3 separate regions of the Homo sapiens genome follow, and all the other regions are linked to region 1. Evidence: promoter capture Hi-C in human tissues and cell types (Jung and others, 2019). All regions are on one chromosome and are shown on one strand. The core of a region is centred on a gene start or on the middle of the fragment in contact, and the rest is flanking DNA. Distances in the headings are between cores, read along the strand shown.

Region 1 (4,084 bases), core at 785-3,284:
CTCTTGAATCTCTATTTCCCTCTACTTGAACTTCAAATCTCATTTTCTATGTCATTTCTCTTAAGCTGGTGTCCTAATTTCCCAAATTTGCTCCTAAAAACTTTTCTTTTTCTCCAGCTCTAACTTATTTTATTCTTGCTTCCATTTTTCCATTGCTCTCTATTAACAATGAAGCATAAATTTTAAACTACGCTAGCACCTAAAATCCTAAGCAAAAATGATTTTTAGAACCAGATATTCCAATCATGAGACTTTTTAATTGCTTTCTCAGTCACTGTTTTTGCAATAATTGTATTGAATGGTTTCTCATCCTCAATTTATGAAGATTTATGAAAATCTATATGGTCTTTACAAGAAGGGTTCCCATTGCTTTTTAATTTAATATCCAACTCCGTAATTTGATATCCATATGCACCTCCTATGGGTGGAGTCACAGTGTGAATCTCAAAGATCAAAAGTTATGACCAGAGTACACAGAATTGTTAAATTCAAAGCCACTGTGAGATAAAAAAAAAAATAGGAACAACTATTAAATCGATGGCCAAGTCAGATAACTCCAAGACTTGTCACACCAAACTTCCATCTCTTGTCTCTGAAGAGGAGTCAAAACAATATAAAAGATCAGAATTTGAGCAGACTTTTTTTTTTTTTTTTTTTTTTTTGAGACGGAGTCTCTCTCTGTTTCCAGGCTGGAGTGAAATGAGACGATCTCAGCTCACTGCAACCTCCGCCTCCCGGGTTCAAGCGATTCTCCCGGCTCAGCCTCCCTAGTAGCTGGGACTACAGGCGCGTGCGACCACGCCTGGCTAATTTTTGTATTTTTAGTAGAGATGCGTTTCACCCTGTTGGCCAGGATGGTCTCGATCTCTTGATCTCGTGATCCTCCCGCCTCGGCCTCCCAAACTGCTGGGATTACAGGTGTCAGCCACTGCACCCAGCCAGAATTTGAGCAGACTATCTATGCCCCCTATGTAGGCCTGGCACTAAACATTTCCTGCAAATACCACTGGCCATCCTAGAACCACTTTGAGATCTGTAAGGCTCGTACACAAAAAGACTATAATCATACCCTTCTCTCAGTCAAGGCTACTTAGAAAAAACTGCCTCTACAGATTTCAAAGCCAAGCAGCAATAATCACGTGACCAACACCCGTTTAATAGGGATGCCTCAACACTCCTGGTCAGATTTTGTTTGCTGAGTCCCTCAAAGCTTATTGGCTTTTGCTCACAGCCCAAGGTATGCAAACCTGCTTATATACAAACAGCTACTCTCCTGTGGGCAAAATTGCCACTACAGCTGAACATATATGATCGGTACCTAGACCAGTTCTGCCAGAGTGCAACACTTCCCACTTTAGCCATGCCAGAAGATACAACTACACAAATCGCTCTGCAACATGCAATTCCTTTCCTTTTAATTTTCCTTTTACTCCCATCCTATGTCCTAGATGTCAGAGTGAGAGGAAGGTCCAAAATATAACGTCTTTCCATTCCCTCTGGGAGAAATGAAACAAAAAAGGAAAGTGGCAAAAAAAAAAAAAAAAAATCTGGCCGGGCGCAGTGGCTCACGCCTGTAATCCCAACACTTTGGGAGGCCGAGGCGGGTGGATCACGAGGTCAGGAGATCGAGACCATCCTGGCTAACATGGTGAAACCCCGTCTCTACTAAAAATACAAAAAAAAATTAGCCAGGCGTGGTGGCGGGCCCCTGTAGTCCCAGCTACTCGGGAGGCTGAGGCAGGAGAATGGCGTGAACCCGGGAGGCGGAGCTTGCAGTGAGCCGAGATGGCGTCACTGCACTCCAGCCTGGGGTGACAGAGTGAGACTCCGTCTCAAAAAAAAAAAAAAATTTCAAAATATTTCCTGATAACTGTTAGAGCAATGAATGAAGACCATGTCTTATAACTGTCAGCTTACTGACAACGAACCCCAGAATGAGACAAACTTACCAAGGACGTCACAGGTAACAGGCAAAAAAAGACGGCGCAGAGGCAAATTCCGAACCTTTCCGTTTTACAGCCTGGAGGGGTCGGGTAAAACAGGTACTTCCTGTGAGCAGTTTCCGCCTTAGGTGAAAGGAAGAGGCGGTCACATGAAGGACTGCGCGTTCCAAACTGACCAATCAGATAGATGATTGCTATCTCCACGGGAGGAACTAAAAAGACAGCCATTAGGAGAGTTCTTCTAATATAAGTCCCTCTGTAATGAATCAAACAAAAGAATTGAGATGGGTGTTCCTACCTACCAACATAATTCCTAGTGACACCTGTTGGGATCTTTTCCTTCCATGTCGCAGCTATCTCTTGGCAAGCCCCCTGGCTCCGTGTTACTTCTTTATCCCACTTGGTGATTAGGAAAGTTTGAGATTGCCTGTAACCCAAAGCAAGTCATAAATCCCGTGTAGCCCATCTGATCTCTCCTAAGCATACTAGGATGCTAATTATGATGACCACATAATATTTTGCCCAAACTGAGACCCTTGAGAGTGAAAGAGGGCAATGTAATTAATTAAAATTATACGTTTTCTTATTTTTTGAGATTTTGAGACTTTATATTGGTGGGCCAATAAAGTGCAATTCAAAATTCATTTTGGAAAGGAAATTAGTTCTAAAAATTAAAATGATATAATTACATATTAAAGCTAAAACTTTTTGTAAAGTCTGTATTGATAATATGAACATAATAAAATGGCACTTTGGGAGGCCAAGGCAGGTGGATCACCTGAGGTCAGCAGTTTGAGATCAGCCTGGCCAACGTGGTGAAACCCTGTCTCTACTAAAAATACAAAAATTAGCTGGGCGTGGGGTCGGATGCCTGTAATCCCAACTACTTCTGGAGGCTGAGGCAGGACAATGGCTTGAATCACAGTGGCGGAGGTTGCAGTGAGCCGAGATCGAGCCGTTGCACTCCAGCTGGGCAACAAGAGTGAAACTCCATCTCAAAATATATATATGTATAATAAAATGATCATTCTTGCTGTATGCTGATGTATTTTAATTAGTGTTTTGGTCTATAAGACTGGGTCACTGATATTTTCTAAAGAATATATTTTAATATGGTATTATTACTTGTCAACTTTTTAAATCGCCTATACTCTTCTAAAACATGTACTTTATGGGTGATATATGTCAAATTGTTGACATCTTCACTTAACTGTTCACCATGTATTATAGTATTTTAAATTGAGAAAATAAGCTCATAGAAATTCTGCTAAACAGAAAATACCCTTTCTATTTTTTTCATTTTGAAATATGTAATTTTTTCAGTCCAAATATTTTCGCAAGTACCTTCTTCTGGCCTGTAAGGTAACCTATCTTCAGCACATATTTGTATGAGACAAATTTCATTAATTTTGTTGTTATTTATATTCTTTTGAGGTTTTTTTGTTTTTTTGTTTTTGATGGAGTCTTGTTCTGTCTCCCAGGCTGGAGTGCAGTGGCACCCTCTTGGCTCACTGCAACCTCTGCCTTCCCGGGTTCACGCGATTCTCCTGCCTCAGCCTCCTGAGTAGATGGGATTACAGGTGCACACCACCACACCCAGCTAATTTTTTGTGTATTTTTAATAAAGACAGGGTTTCACTATGTTGGCCAGACTGGTCTCGAACTCCTGACCTCGTGATCCGCCCACCTCGGCCTCCCAAAGTGCTGGGATTACAGGCATGAGCCACGGCGCCCGGCCTCTTTTGAAGGTTTAACAAATTTAGATCCTGCAAATTGGAAAGCCTTTTAAATTTTATGTCTCTAAAAATGTGAATTTATACTACTTATAGTAGAAATCCCATGAAAAAAATTATATAAATTTAAAATATTCCAAAGCACAATTATAGAATGTGAAAGTTAAATATTATATAAGATTTAAGATCCAATTAAATTTGTTCATATTATCCCTTGGTTTTGAATGAGTATTTTAAATATTTTCCTGTGTCATGGGCTTTGTTTTTAATAACTACAGTCTGCTACATTTTCAAAACCCGTATTTTATTGGCAAAACAATTGAATTCTTTGAAAATTTTCAAATGATTTTAACACAATTCAACAAATTTTTTCTGTCATTAAAAGTTTACTATTTTTGTAGATAATTT
Region 2 (4,084 bases), core at 863-3,362, 53 kb after region 1:
TTAACTTTTTTCAATTTGGCTTCAAACATTTATAAGTTTTTAGCATAGCTCAGGGCACAGTTAAAATATCTGTAACATTCAAATCTGTATAGGTAATACTTCTGAACATATGCAATACTAATAAAAATTAACAATGAAGTTTTCAAAAATCCCATTTGAAAATATTATCTCCAAATAATTCTTAGTTCACAGATAAAAGTAGCAACATAATTATAGAATATTTAGCAAATAATTATAATAATATTACATATCTAAAGGTATGAATTATGGCCAAAGTTGTTTGCAAAGGAAATCTTATTGCAATAAGAAAAATTTATTATTTAAATAAAACATAGTGAAAATAAACTAATAAGAGGCAAACTCAAGGAGCTAGAAAAGGAGTAACAAAACTAACTTGCAGAAAGATGGAATTCAAATACAATCATGACTCAATAATTAGAAAATAGAAACAATGAAATAAATAAATAAATTCAAGACTCAAGTTTTTGAAAGTTTCCATGACAAGAATCTTCTATCATGGCTTCAATACAACAAGGCAAAGCAAAATAAAACAACAAGCACAGAGGGTATAAATTTACCTATGGGGAATGGGAAAGAAAATAAAACTGCATACTCAATCACTACTTTCTAAACTAATAAATAGTATGTAAAATTCATTCTGATGATTTTCAAAATCGTGATGAAATTGATTCATTTAAAGGAAAATATAAACTATCTAAACTTACTTAGTGGAAAGATATTAATTTTTCACCTGCACACACGCCATTCTTAAAGGGCCCAGTGCCCTGTAGGAGCAGAGCTATAAATTGCAGGACCCTGACCAGTTAATCCCTGCCAGGGTGAATGCCTAACCTAATTTCTTCAGCTGGCATCTCTCTGAGAACAGAATCCCATCCTCCTCATCCTCCTCCCGCACTTCCTGTCCCCTTTAGTGCTTTACTATTATCATAGCCCTATCACTATCTAACACATCACCTGTTTTGTTATTTATGTTTTTCAGTATTGTCTGCCTCCTCTCCCTTGCCCCACACAAGTAAATGTAAGCTCCACCTGGCAGGATATTTGTTTTTTGGTACACTATCGGCTCACAGATTCTAAACAGGAAATCGGGCACAAAGTTGGCACAAATGTATATTTGTTGAATGAGTGAATAAATCAATTAATGAATGAATAAGGGACCGATCTGTTATCTATAGAGAAATAAAGTTGATGATTTATATACGTGTTGATTTGGGTATATGCAAACAAAGGGAGTCTTAGACTACCATATGTGGCAAATACCATAGACTGTATTTAAGTGACCACAGGCATTTGTCTGCTGGTTCAAAAAAGAAGCTGAGTAGAGTGATAGTGAGAGAGAAAGAGAGAGAAGGAGATAGGTGAGTAGTGGAGGAAGAAGAAGAGGAAGAAGAGGAAAGAGAGTGAGAGGGGCGCTGCTTGTTTGCTTCTATGTTTTTATGAGGATCTGACTATTTTTGTACAGTTGGACTCCATGAAGAAAAAGATACTTTTTAATTGTTTGTTTGTTTTAAATCACAGACTCACTGATGTGTCAAATGTAAAATACAATAGCTTTTATTGGGCTTTCCACATTGTCTTAGATCTATCCCTTCAGGTCGAGAATTCCTAATTTTGACTGTACATTTACTACAACTATCTAACTTCTTGCTTATTGGTTTTGTTTTCTTCTTTAATACACAGGCACAGGCCCCACCCTGCCCCATGGGGTAGTTCTAATGTGTGGCCATGTTAAGAGCTGCTGCTTTAAAGACTCCACAAGAAAACTATTAGAACGGATAAGCAAATTCAGTAAAGTTGCAGGATACAAAATTAATATACAAAAATCAGTAGCATTTTTGTATGTCAATAGTTAACAATCTGAAAAAGGAACAAAAAAGTAATCCTATTTACAATAGCCACATATAAAATTAAATACCTAGGAATTAACTTTACCAAAGAAATGAAAGATATCTATAATGAAAATTAGAAAACACTGATGAAATAAATTGAACAGGACACCAAAAAATGGAAAAAGATTTTATGTTCATGGATTGGAAGAATCAATATTAATAAAATTTCCATACCACCAAAAGCAATCTACAGGTTCAGTGCAATCACTATCAAAATACCAAAGATATTCTTCACAGAAATAGCAAAAACAATCCTAAAATGTATATGGAACCACAAAAGACCCAGAATAGCCAAAGATATCCTAAGCACAAAGAATGAAACTGGAGGAATCACATTACCTCATTTCAAATTATACTACAAATCTGTAATAATCAAAACAACATGGTACTGGCATAAAAACAGACACATAGATCAATGAAACAGAATAGAGAACCCAGAAACAAATCCACACACCTAAGCAAACCCATTTTCAACACAGGTGCCAAGAATATACAGCTGGAAAAAGACGGTCCCTTCAATAAATGGTGCTGGGAAAACTGTATTATTCATACGCAGAAGAATGAAAATAGACCCCTATCTCTGCCATATACAAGAATCAAATCAAAATGAATTAAGACCACCTCAAACCATTGAGCTATTACAAGAAAACATTGAGGGAAATCTCTTGGACATTGGTCTGGGCAAAAATTTCTTGAGTAATACCTTAGAAGCATGGCAACCAAAACCACAATGGACAGAAGGGATCACATCAAGTTAAAAAGCTTCTGCACAGCCAAGTATACAATCAACAAAGTGAAGTGACAACTCATAGATTGGGAGAAAATATCTGCAAACTATTCATCTGACAAAGGATTAAGAATCAGAATATATAAAGAGGTCAAACAACTGAATAGGAAAAAATCTGATAATCCAATCAAAAATGGGCAAAAATTTGAATAGATAATAAGATCTGGCTGTGTTCTCAGCCAAATCTCAACTTGAATTTTATCCCCCAGAATTCCCACTTGTTGTAGGAGGGACCCAGGGGGAAGTAATTGAATCATGGGGGACAGTCTTTCCTGTGCTATTCTTGTGATAGTGCATAAGTCTCACCAGATCTGATGGGCTTATCAGGGGTTTCTGCTTTTGCTTCTTCCTCATTTTTCTCTTACCATCACCATGTAAGAAGTGCCTTCCACCTCCCACCATGATTCTGAGGCCTCCCCAGCCATATGAGACTGTAAGTCCAAGTAAACCTCTTTTTGTTCCCAGTTTCAGGTATGTCATGATCAGCAGTGTGAAAATGGACTAATACAGCAGACATTTCTCAAAAGAAGACATGGAAATTGTAAACAGATATAGGTAAAGGTGCTCAACATCACTGATCATCAGAGAAATGCAAATCAAAACTACAATGACGCATCATCTCACCCCAGGTAAAATAGCTTATATCCAAAAGGCAGGCAATAGCAAACACTGGAGATAAATTAGTACAACCACTATGGAGAACAGTTGGAGAGTCCTCAAAAAACTAAAAATAAAGCTACCATATGATTCAGCAATTCCACTACTGGGTGTATACCCAAAAGAAAGGAAATCAGTATATCAGAGAGATATCTGCACTCCTATGTTTGTTTCAGATCTGTCTACAATAGCTAAGATTTGGAAGCAACCTAAGTGTCTATAAACTGATAAATGATTAGAGAAAATGTGGTACATATATACAGTGAATGACTATTCAGCCATAAAAAAGAATGAGATCCAGTCATTTGCTACAACATGGATGGAAATGGAGATCATCAAGTTAAGTGACATAATCCAGGCACAGAAAGATAAACCTTGCATGTTCTCACTTATTTGTGGGATCTAAAAATCAAAACAATTGAACTCATGAACATAGAGGGTAAAATGATGGTTACCAGAGACTGGGAAGGGTAGCGGGAGTTTGGTGGAGGGAAGATGGGGATGATTAATGGGTACAAAGTAATAGAATGAATAAGACCTACTATTTGATAGCACAACAGAGCAACTATAGCCAATAATAACTTAATTTTACATTTTGAAATAACTTAAAGAATGTACTTGGACTGTTTGTAACTCAAATAATAAATACTTGAAGAAATGGCTACCCCATTTTCCATGATGTGCTTATTTCACATTGCATGCCTGTATCAAAGCATCTCATGTACTTCAT
Region 3 (4,084 bases), core at 514-3,013, 45 kb before region 1:
AGTGAACTTTTTGTATAGCTTAAAATCTTAAAATTATTTTGGATGTTTACTGGACGTATGGGTCATTTCCAATTAAGAAAGAGTTATTATAATATATGGGAAGATAAGTTTCTAAAAATTATGAAATTGTTCTCATCTTTAAAATGCTAACATCTGGTAAAGAGTTCAGGATTTCTTGCTTCGTAGGTTTATATAATATGTGCCAAAGAATATGCCTTTTTATCGAGAAAAAGAATAACTTTGTCTAATTCAAAAGCTATGTAAAGGTTAATTCAAATTATCAACTTGAAAAGGTTATTTATGAAATGAGATAGAAAGGAACTGATAAGGAGGGAGAAATGTAAATAAAGTTATAGATATACATATGTATTTTTGGTAAGGAAGGATATTAACAAAAAGACTAATTTTATACAAGACAGGGTCTTGTATGCTGAATTCTTGTCCTAGAGAACAACTGGTTATTTAAGAAAGAGATAGTACAGGACAAGTCGGAAAGTACAAGCATGTGATAGTCTGTGTAAGTCATGATAAAGTTTGTAAAAGAAAATTCATGAAGGAATTTTGTGTGTAATTAAGTGGCTGTCATTAGAAGGGAATTGTTTATAATTGTCTTTCTAGAGAATAGTCGCCCATGTTAAAGCAAGATCTTCTTAAGATATTGATTTGCTCTTAATAAAATTACAAGAAATTTTTATTTTAATTCCATAACCTGTTCCTTTTAAAACTTCTCAGATTCATATCTCATATTCAACTATTGTTGTGCCTTGCTGCTTTCAATTCTTTCTCCCTTTGAGAAGGCCTAATACGATAATGCTCCAGCTTTTTCATAGCTCCTGTGACCTTTTCTCCTCTGGTTTTAACTCTTCATATTGACTGATGCTGAAATATTTTATCTTAGAGGTCTATAAAAGCAATGTTTTCCTCCAGGATAACTTGATTTTATACTCTTTGCTGTTCTTGAAACTTTATATTTGACCTTTGTTTTTTAATTCTTAGATTGCTTAAAAAAAGTTTTAAGGGCTAATGAGTGTTGAGCAACCTCCATTCTCACCTGGACTAAAATGTTTAATTGGCTATCGAAATCTGAAAAACTAATTCAGGTCATGATGGGAAACAGGGGCCGGACATGCCTCACTATGCCCGCTATTTGGAATTTAGGTCACGTTCAAAAGGCCCTTCAAGAATATGGAAATAAAGCACTGCCCTTTCCAACAAGGGAAATAATTAACTCCCCCATTCAACCAAGAGACTTAGTCTTACTGAAAATTTGGAAAGAAGGATCCCCCAAGGATGAATTTCAACCAAAATGGAAGGGCCCCTATCAGGTGTTGTTAAGTATCCCCACTGCCATTAAGCTTCAGGGGATCACCAGCTGAGTACACCTATCCAGGATTAAACCTGTTTCTTATGAGCCCCCCAGGTTTCAGATACAAACAATGTTACCTACACTTGTGAGTCTCTGAAGGCCACCCACGACATTTTTTTTTTTAACTAAAGGGAAGTTAGCTTTATTGGAGAAGCCAACAACTGAAGGGAGGCAGTGAAGTAGCATTCAAAAACCACCTCTCCAAGTTGTGCCTCTGGATCAGGAGTTTTTAAGAGAAGTTAAGAGAAATCATCAAAATATTTTTTTGTGAAATGATCGTGTGCTGTCTCAGGTGGGCAGTTAATCATTGCGTTCTTGGTCAATGTTTTGTGGTCTTCTGCAGGCACCATCAGCCTATTCTTATCAGGCCAGTCAGCCCATTCCTAGAGTTGTTGGTCAGAGTTGTTTTTTGTTTGTTTGTTTGTTTGTTTGTTTAGACGGAGTCTCGCCCAGGCTGGAGTGCAGTGGCGCGATCTAGGCTCACTGCAAGCTCCACCTCCCGGGTTCACGCCATTCTCCTGCCTCAGCCTCCTGAGTAGCTGGGACTACAGGCGCCGGCCACCACGCCCGGCTAATTTTTTGTATTTTTAATAGAGACGGTTTTTCACCGTGTTAGCCAGGATGGTCTCCATCTCCTGACCTCGTGATCAGCCCGCCTCAGCCTCCCAAAGTGCTGGGGTTACAGGCGTAAGGCACCGCACCTGGGCTTTTATTATGATTATTATTATGATTATTTCAATAGCTTTGGGGATACATGTGTTTTTTGTTACATGGATGAATTAAATAGCAGTGAATTCTGAGATTTTAGGGCACCCATCACCTGAGTAGTATACAGTATGCCTGTGTAGTTTTTTAATCTCTAGCACCTCTTCTACTCTCCCCCTTCTGAGTATTATATTAATACCACTCTGTATGTCTTTGGGTACTCATAGTTTAGCTCTCACTTATCAGTGAGAACATATATTTTTTGGTTTTCCACTCCTGTGTTACTTCACTTAGAATAATGGCCTTCAGCTCCATCCAACATGCTGTAGAAGACATTATTTTGTTCCTTTTAATGGCTGAGTAGTAAGTAGTCCATGGTTGTGTATGTACCATATTTTCTTTAGCCACTCATTAGTTGGTGGCACTTAGGTTGGTTCCACATCTTTGTAACTGTGTATTGTGTTGTGATAAGCATATATGTGCAAGTATCTTTTTCATATAACAACCTCTTCTCCTTTGGTCCATTACCTTTGTAAAAGGACCAACGCTCAATTTGGTACAGAGATGTGGTGCTGTGGTAAGAATAGGAGTATCAATTTTTCTCTTCTTCTTGATCATAATACTCTTTCTCTACCGCTTTGAACAACTGCTTCCTCCTAGGAAACACATCTTTTGTCCTTGTTGGGTGTAGAGGCCACTCTAAGGTCCACCCAGACATCATGCTGCCTCTGATAATCCTGTTTGCTCCCCCAGTTAACCTAATTCAGTGTGGGTGGGAGAAAACTCTATAGTAAATATTTCAAAAAAGTATAGCATCAAGGAATCATCTTCTTGGTTGCCGACTCTGTCATCAACATCCCCAGGATAGAGAGTTCCACGTCCTGGCACATCTGGAAAATCTCACGACCATGTCTCTGGACCTCGTAATTAACCACCATGATCCCTTAGTACACAGAACCCTACTTGTTAGGTGGAATTCTCCCCCACTTAACAGATTCTACCTAACTTCCTCCACCACTGTTATCTGGACCTGGGAGATTGGGTACTAGTACCTCCAGTGATCTAATGACACTATCTTTTGCATCCATTGCTGTGTTAATGACACAAGAGTGGAAGTTTCCCCACAATGCTCTGTTCCAACCCTAGTTTCCAAGTCCCAAGGCTGCACTAAAATAAATGGGATCCAACTTCTAAGTAAGGAAGCCGTACATGATGCCATGTCCAAGGCCAATACATGCAAAGAAAAAGCAACTGCCTGATTTAGGAAGACGGAAGTATCCCCCCTTCTGGAAAATAGGAGCTGTCTGACCACTGCCATTGGAATTTGGGGAAAATACCTCTATAGATCCACCTTGGCAGCAGAGAACAGATGTTACACCACATATGGCCTCTATTTGTGCCCTAACTGGGCTCACTTTTGTCTGTGGTTGATTGGAAAGAAATCCGACCCTGCAACTAACTACTCCTGACTCCCTGGAGAGCTACCTATTCTTTTAGGAGTAGTTTTCTTTTGTATATCAAAAACTTGTACATAAAAACAAAATGTTTTGTATATCAAAACAAAAATGTATGTTGGTCACCATTGCTCCTCTGAGGGTCACTGTCTATAACCCCATAAGGCCCAATAATACCAAAAATAAACAAACAATAGCATTATTTCTAATGGGAAGCAGGGCAGCAATAGGACTAGTGGCTTTGCCTACCTGAGACAACCCTAAGGAATTAGACTCAAACCCCAGAATCATTGGCCACCAACACAGGTCGGGCACTGAAGAGAATTCAAGAGTCCCTAGACCTTTGGCAAATGTAATCCTTTGCCAAAGGATTACAACACTATTACAAATGTAATAGTGTTGCATTATTTACTAGTTGAACAATAGTCTATGTCATTATTACCTGCTGTGGATATATTAATAACTCTGGACAAGTTGAGTTTAACATTCAAAAATTATATGAACAAGTTACATGGCTATATAGATACAACCAGGGTACTGACTCCACCTATATCCAGTC

Evidence for each region. Contacts are between HindIII fragments. The study calls those that stand out against the background at their distance.
Region 2: a fragment that was not itself captured here is called in contact with the fragment with the promoter of COX7B2 in region 1 in 1 of the 25 tissues and cell types used here (stomach).
Region 3: a contact is called between a fragment that was not itself captured here and the fragment with the promoter of COX7B2 in region 1, in 2 of the 25 tissues and cell types used here (aorta and spleen).

Annotation. Positions count from the first base shown.
Region 1 is chr4:46,907,211-46,911,294 of GRCh38, forward strand. It overlaps COX7B2 (cytochrome c oxidase subunit 7B2), which reads right to left and starts at 2,035. Exons shown (of 3, transcript NM_130902.3): 1 at 1,950-2,035. The HindIII fragment of the contact is 11,120 bases long and covers 1-4,084 here.
Region 2 is chr4:46,960,445-46,964,528 of GRCh38, forward strand. All of the region lies in intron 8 of GABRA4 (gamma-aminobutyric acid type A receptor subunit alpha4), which reads right to left. Among named protein-coding and RNA genes, the nearest start is that of GABRA4, 31 kb to the right of the region's middle. The HindIII fragment of the contact is 8,926 bases long and covers 1-4,084 here.
Region 3 is chr4:46,862,871-46,866,954 of GRCh38, forward strand. The region is part of intron 1 of COX7B2 (cytochrome c oxidase subunit 7B2); the gene reads right to left. Among named protein-coding and RNA genes, the nearest start is that of COX7B2, 44 kb to the right of the region's middle. The HindIII fragment of the contact is 4,587 bases long and covers 1-4,057 here.